Regions from separate parts of the Homo sapiens genome. Here region 1 is linked to region 2. The links are contacts of gene promoters, found by promoter capture Hi-C in human tissues and cell types (Jung and others, 2019). All regions are on one chromosome and are shown on one strand. Each heading gives the region's core, a stretch centred on a gene start or on the middle of the fragment in contact. The rest is flanking DNA. Distances are from core to core; before and after follow the strand shown. Region 1 overlaps LOC124903907 (a long non-coding RNA gene). Region 2 holds the start of SLC13A5 (solute carrier family 13 member 5).

Region 1 (3,809 bases), core at 1,078-3,577, 160 kb after region 2:
GTATTTTGATTTTATAGATAAGGACATAGAGGCTGTATCCTCAGTAATATGTCATGGGTCACACAGCAAGTTAGGGGCATGGCCAGAATGTGACTGAAGTGTGTTCAGCTCAAAACCCTATGGCCTTAACTACTACACCAGTCTTTCTCCATTATCTCATCCTCTGAGATGCTTCCCATGAGGCAGTCTCAAACTCTTAAGTCCAACTCAAAGAAAATGGCTTATCTGAATATGGTTTAATACTGTTTTGATTTAGAGGATTTTCCTATTGCCTAAAGGCTTTGCAGTGGTGAGAATGGGATGGGAATTCCCAAAGTCACCTGGACAAGTTTAATATTAATTTTTGTGGGTACATAGTAGATATATATACTTATGGGTTACATGAGATATTTTGATAAAGCATGCAATGCGTAATAATCACATCAGAATGGAGTATCCATCTTTGCTAAAGGATAAAGCATTTATCCTTTATGTTACAAAAAATCCAATTATACTCTTTTAGTTATTTTAAAATGTATAATTAAATTATTTTTTACTATAGTCACCCTGTTGTGCTAGCAAATAATAGGTCTTACTCATTCTTTCTTGCCAAGACCAGCTCGGTCGGGGAGACCCTAACCCAGTGGCACTAGAGGAATTAAAGACACACACACAGAAATATAGAGGTGTGGAGTGGGAAATCAGGGGTCTCACAGCCTTCAGAGCTGAGAGCCCCCGAACAGAGATTTACCCACGTATTTATTAACAGCAAACCAGTCATTAGCATTGTTTCTATAGATGTTAAATTAACTAAAAGTATCCCTTATGGGAAACGAAGGGATGGGCCGGATTAAAGGAATAGGTTGGGTTAGTTAACTGCAGCAGGAGCATGTCCCTAAGGCACAGATTGCTCATGCTATTGTGTGTGGCTTAAGAATGCCTTTAAGTGGTTTTCCATCCTGGGCGGGCCAGGTGTTCCTTGCCCTCATTCCAATAAACCCACAACCTTCCAGCTTGGGTGTTAAGGGCCATTATGAACATGTTACAGTGCTGCAGAGATTTTGTTTATGGCCAGTTTTGGGGACAGTTTATGGCCAGATTTTGGGGGGGCCTGCTCCCAACATGTCTCCCTTCTTTGATTTGCAAAGAGATAAAAGCAAAGGCAGCTTTGTCACAGTGAGCTACTTCTCACAGGAGTCAGGATCCACATCTGCACACTATACAAAGACAAACAACATGGATTAAAAGCACAATCATCATTGAAATACAGAGCTTCCAAGTGTTTTTATCCATTCTAATGGGTTACTAGCTGCTAATTTGTCTGCAGCTCCTTTAAGGACTCCAGTTCCTGGCATTAAGGTCAGGTGTGCCTGGGATGCTTTAAATATTTGTTCTTTTAATTTTGCCATATCCAAAAACAAGTTTGTAGAGTGTCCTTCTAGATGCCTTTTTATTCTTTCCCAAATTTTGATCTTATTAAGAACATCTAATAGTTTCCACAAATCCTTATGTTAAGCTTCTAGAGCAGGCCATATCATTTGAGGTTGAGGTGCCACTATACCGCCACGGTTCCAGATAATAGGAACTTTTGCCATACTTCTTATCATTTCTACCATCTGACCGTTTTGTTCAGATCATCTGAACATAGTGTGGCCATGGCACGCAGACTGAGAGGTGCAATTCAAGCTAAACATCCCCTTAGGGTACCAATTAATAATGATTCCATAGGAATCATTGTGCAGCACCTCTGTCTGTTCTGCAAAGCAATCTTCCTAAACAAGTACGTTCATCTTTTTCTAACTGGGTCCAATCCTGTTTACAAAAAGGTTTTTGAGGATGGTATGCCTCAATTATATGAGCAGATTTATTATGGTAAATACTGAGATCAGAAAGCATGTGTAACTGTGTCAGAGTGATTGCATCCAGGCATTATTGCCGGCCAAGATTGATAAATATGCCCAATAAGTATAACTGTTCTCTGTGTCAGCCCCTGTTGAAGGAATACTCATGGCAGTGGTGATAACCGCTATCATAGCTACCATTAAATTATTCATTGTGACTGGTTGTCCCGCTTTCCTCAGGTTTTCTTCCGCCATCTGTGACAGCTTCTTGATCTGTCCCCAGGTGGGTGGCTGTGTTTGACGGGTGTTGCTCGTGACAATTGGGGTCCTCCTCAGCATCAGTCTTGACATGGCTGCAACTGGGGGGTCCTCGGGATCCTCCTGTAATCTGGCTTATGCTAAGGTTTCAGGTGTATTGATGGTATCCAGATCAGCTGTTGATTTTGGCCTGGAGAAACACAAGCATAACCTCTACCCCAGGTTATCTTCTTTTCAGGTAATGCTGTATCTGCGTTTGAGACCAGAGGCATTAACATGGGTTAAATTGTGAGTGTCTAGCATTAGATATTGCATTAGCAACTAGGCGATCAGCCATTTGATTCCCTTCAGTCAAAGATCCTGGAAGAGGTATATGAGCCCTAATGTGAGTGATGTAAAAAGGGTGCATTCTACGTCTAACTGCTGTTTGCAATTGGGTAAATAAAGTCATCAGTTGTGTATCTGTATGAAATCATAACTGAGCATTTTTAATTAACTCTGTTGGAATGAACCACATATGAAGAATCAGAAATCACATTAATAGGCACATCAAAAGCAGTCAATACCTCAATTACCACTACAAGCTCTGCTTTTTGAGCTGAAGTATAGGACGTCTGGAAAACTTTACTTTTTGAGCCAAAATAAGAAGCTTTACCATTACTAGACCCATCTGTAAAAACATTCTCAGCCCCTTCAATTGATTTAAACTTAGTTATTTTGGGGAGAATCCAATTAGTTAATTTCAAAAACTGAAACAGCTTCATTTTAGGAAAATGATTATTGAGAATACCCACAAAGTCAGCTAAATGGGTTTGCCAAGTAAGACTTTTTATAAAAGCTTGCTGTATTTGTGCCTTCGTGAGAGGGACAATAATTTTTCTAGGATCATATCCATGTAATTTAACAATCTGAGTTCTCCTACTCCCTATAGTAGTGATTTGATCTAAATAAGGAGTTAGAGTCCATGAATTAGTATGTGGAAGAAAAAGCCATTTTACTAAGTCCTGTTCTTGGACAATAACACCAGTGGGTGAATGCTGAGTTGAAAAAATTAGCAAATCTAGAGTCTTCTCTGGATCTATTCTATTTATTTGAGCTTTATGGACTTGCTTCTCAATCAGTTGTAACTCTGCCTCTGCCTCGTTTGTTAATTGCCAAGGGCTAGTGAGACTAGGATTTCCTCTAAGGATAGAAAACAGATTACTCATGGCATAGGTAGGAATGCCTAGAGCAGGTCGTATCCAATTAATATCCCCTGGTAATTTTTGAAAATCATTTAATGTTTTTAATTTATCCCTAAGTATGGTTACTTTCTGTGGCACAATGGTAGTGTCATTTACTAAGGTCCCCAAGTAAGAATAAGGAGTAGTAGTCTGAATTTTGTCAGGAGCTATAATTAAACTAACGCAAGAAATCGAATTTTGCAAGTGATCATAACATTGGAGTAATATTTCTCGAGTGGGGCAGCACAAAGTATATCATCCATATAGTGAATAATGTAACACTGTAAAAACTTTTTACGAGTAGGTTCAATTGCTTGCCCCACATATGTCAGGCAAATTGTGGGGCTATTTAACATGCCCCTTTCCAATGAATACGCTTTCCAATGAATACGCTTAGCAGGCTGCAGGTTGTTTACTGCAGGAATTGTAAATGCAAACTGTTCACAGTCTTGCTCAGCTAAAGGGATAGTAAAGAAACAGTCTTTTAAATCTTTGACTATCAAAGGCC
Region 2 (3,565 bases), core at 311-2,810:
CTGAAATCGCAGCTCTCCTGCCTGGCTACTTCCCCTGGACAATAACAACCCCAGACTTCTTGCTACAGAGGAAGTGTGGCTGCCCACAGTTGGTGTGGCAACTGCACAGCCTCCACAGTTGGATCTGCTGTCCTTGACCCATCCAGGGCCTGTGCTAGGCCCACCCAAGGGCTCCTCCCAGTCTCCCCCTCCCCCATCCTAGGAACTAACGTTAATCCCTTTTGATTCCCAAAGCCTTAAAGTGTCAGAACCAAACCACCTAGCCCCATTGTACAGATGAGAACACCAAGGCCCAGAGAGCACAGGCACTTGGCTAAAGTCACACAGATGACAGAATGGTGGAAGTCCAGTTCTCTTGCAGGTTGGCTTCCTGACACCCCAGTGCACTCCCTTCCTCTAGAGCTCCCCCCCAGAGCATCCCCTGAAGAGCTCCTCTGTTTCCCAAACCTGCCTGGGGAGGGGAGGTGGGGAGCTGGAGGTTTCCTGTCTGGGCTGAGAGTGAAAGGGCTGAAAGAAGGAACGAGGAAGGAGCAGCCAGCAGCCACAAAAGGCTTCAAAGGGCTTGGGCCTCCGCCAAACTGGCTGTGCACAGCCCAGTGGAGCCTGCGCCCACCCTGCGGCCAAGGCCATTCATTCTCTCTCTCCCTCACAGAAGCATTAGGAGACTAGGGCCTGGGAGGAAGCTTCCCTGCAACTCCAGGTCCTGCCACCCAAGGCGCGAGCTCTGGGAATGTGTCCCGCCTCCTGCTACAGCCCCAGCAGGCAGGAGGCAAAGCAGGCCAACCCCAACCTGCCTGCAGCCTGGAGCAGGATTATGAATCAGATGTGGCTCTCCAGGTTGGAAGGAATGTGGATCATAGATAGAGACACTAAGGCCCAAGGAAGGGCCAGAGAGTGGCAAAGACAGCGCAGGATCCACGTGGGTGATGATTTTTTTCCTGTAGGTCCCTCCTGACGGCAGAAGCCACCTACAGCTTGAAGTCTTCTTTGGCGAAGGGAAAAGACAGGAGAGAGAGAGGGAAAGGCAAGCTCCCAGGTTCCCTGTTGGCGCAGGTGGCATTTTGGGGGGAAACAGGGTTATGCACTGTGGGAGATTCGATTCGGAGCCAGGGGCTGAGCCTAAGGCTGGGATCTGTGTGGCTGAGATCTGTGCTCACTTCGAGGTTTCCGTGCTTGCCTGGACGGCTCTTGCGCCCTGGGATCTGTAAACCCCAAGGGTGGTGCGCCCTGGGGTCGCCATGCCCCTCAGATTCTTTACAGGGCACCTCCCATCCGGCACCTGGAGCTCCTGAGTGCGCGCGCCCCGGGAGAGCTGTGCTCCCCGCGAAATCCGTGCGCTCCAGCTCAGGGCTCCCGGGATCGGTGCCCGTTAGTGGGCACAGGACGCCGGGTGTCCGAAGGGCTGCCTGGAGATGCAACTGACCTTGGCGGGCATCAGAATGACGAGTGGCAGCAGCAGGAGCGGGGTGACGAACAAGATCACGAAGGACTTGAACTTGGAGACATAGCTCAGCGCCGAGGCCATCGCGCGGGAGGGAGACTGGCGGGCGAGACGAGTGAGGGGCAGCTAGAGGCGCCGCGGGCTTAAGAAGGGGCCACAGTCCCCGGGGATTGGGGAGGGGGCGGTGACAACTCCGCCCCGCACGGGGGCGCCTCCCCGCGGCCCTGGGGCGGGGCCACCCCTCGGGGTCTGTGGGACGCGCCTGCCCCCAATTCTGCCACCCGGCGGCGGTGGGAGGCGTCTTTGGACTCCAACGCTTCGGGCCAGCCCTCTAGGGGCAGCCTGGGCCCTAGCATCTCGCGCTGTCCAAGCCTCTCCTGCGCTGCCGAGGCAGAGGTGCGTCCCGGGGCTGCCAAGCGGGGCGTGTTTTGGTCACTGGTGCTGCCCGCTTTGGCGTAAGGCGCCCTCCCGCGTCCGCATCTGCTCTTTCCTGGGCTCTGAAGGGTCCCGGATGAAACTCTCTGCAGGCCTCTGGGTCTCTCAGGTCTATCTCCCCGATCTCCCTCTCCTTTCCATCTCCTTACTTCCGCCCCTCCGGTGTCTCTCCGAGAGGTGTCCCCCCACGCCCCGCGCCCTCCGCACCGCGGGCCTCGCTTCCCGGTCCCCCCTGGCTTCCTCGCCACGTCCGCCCCACTCTAGGTGCAGGACCCCTTTTCCCCGCTCGCACTCTCCGGCCCGGAGCTCCTGGGCGATCGCACAGGGAAGCGAGGCCACTGTCCTCCTCTGTCCCAGGGGCTGTCGCGCTCCAGTGGACGCTGCACCCCGCAGACGCCCGGCGGGCAGATGCGGACACGCGTCTTGGAGGGGCCCCACCGAGCCTCAGCAGCCGCAGCTGCCCGCCCGACCCAGGTCAGAGGGAAACGGAGCTCTAGAGAGGAAGGGACACAACTAAGGCGACACTGAGACAGTCGCCCATGTATTCATTCAGCCCGCCAGGCAACAGACAGGTGCCGAGCACCTCTTCTCCGCGAGGCCCTGTTTTGGGCACTGGAGACACACGGATGCAAAGACATCCCCACCTCTGTGATTTTCTTCTTTCCTCTCCTCTGCCTGCCTCTCATTCTGCAGCTTCCTTTTGGGGAGTCTCATCCATGCTGGTGGCCTAACCACAGCCGGCTCCTTAGTGATTACCATCCTCTGCCTTCAACCCAGCCATGATGCCAGAGTCCCAGATGTCCAGCCTTCCGCAGACTGGACGTGTCTCGGCCCGAAAATTCAACACATCCTGAATCAAGCTCATGAGTTCCTTCCTGTGACCTGCACCCAAGGACATGCATTCTCCCAAGCCCCTCCTGCAATTGCCTCCCTCCTGTCCTTTTCCCTTTGTAACTCTCATGCATATAGCCCTGGGTTTTCCCGCCTTTCCTGTGTCCCCAGGGCACTTAGCACAATTTGTACCTCTTATATTTATTGGTGTAATTTTTACTTTTTACTTTTTTATTTTTTAAGTGTTATTTCATTTTTAATTGACAAATCATTGTCTATATTTACGGGGTACCATGTGATTTTTCAATGTGTGTATAATTGTGGTGTGTTCAAATCAGGCTAATGAGCATATTTATCACTCGAATATTTATCATTTCTCTTGTTTTTGTTTTTTGTTTGTTTGTTTGAGACAGAGTTGTGCTCCTGTCACCCAGGCTGGAGTGCAGTGGCACGATCTCGGCTCACTGCAACCTCTGCCACCTAGGTTCAAGCAAATCTCCTGCTTCAGCCTCCCAAGTAGCTGGGATTACAGGTGTGCACCACCACGCCCGGCTAATTTTTTGCATTTTTAGTAGAAATGGGGTTTCACCATGTTAGCCAGGCTGGTCTCGAACTCCTGACCTCAGGTGATCCGCCCACCTCGGTCTCCCAAAGTGCTGGGATTACAGGCGTGAGCCACCGCGTCTGGCCCAAATATTTGTCATTTCTTTGTGGTGAGAACATTTAAAATATCTTGTAGCTATTTTAAAATATATGACACATTATTATGATGTAATTTCTATTTACTGTCTGTTTTATTCATCACCACCTGTCCAGCTAGTGCCTTTCTCAGTGCCTAATCCAGGATGTGCACTCAAA

Evidence for each region. The method cuts DNA at HindIII sites, captures the fragments that hold promoters and counts their contacts. A contact is called where the count stands out against the background at its distance.
Region 1: a contact is called between a fragment that was not itself captured here and the fragment with the promoter of SLC13A5 in region 2, in 2 of the 25 tissues and cell types used here (H1 embryonic stem cells and ovary).

Annotation. Positions count from the first base shown.
Region 1 is chr17:6,874,560-6,878,368 of GRCh38, forward strand. It overlaps LOC124903907 (a long non-coding RNA gene), which reads right to left. Exons shown (of 2, transcript XR_007065596.1): 2 at 661-2,328. It also overlaps the pseudogene ALOX12P2. Among named protein-coding and RNA genes, the nearest start is that of TEKT1, 45 kb to the left of the region's middle. The HindIII fragment of the contact is 3,980 bases long and covers 338-3,809 here.
Region 2 is chr17:6,711,809-6,715,373 of GRCh38, forward strand. SLC13A5 (solute carrier family 13 member 5) reads right to left here and starts at 1,561. Exons shown (of 12, transcript NM_177550.5): 1 at 1,424-1,561. The coding sequence starts at 1,525. The HindIII fragment of the contact is 16,548 bases long and covers 1-3,565 here.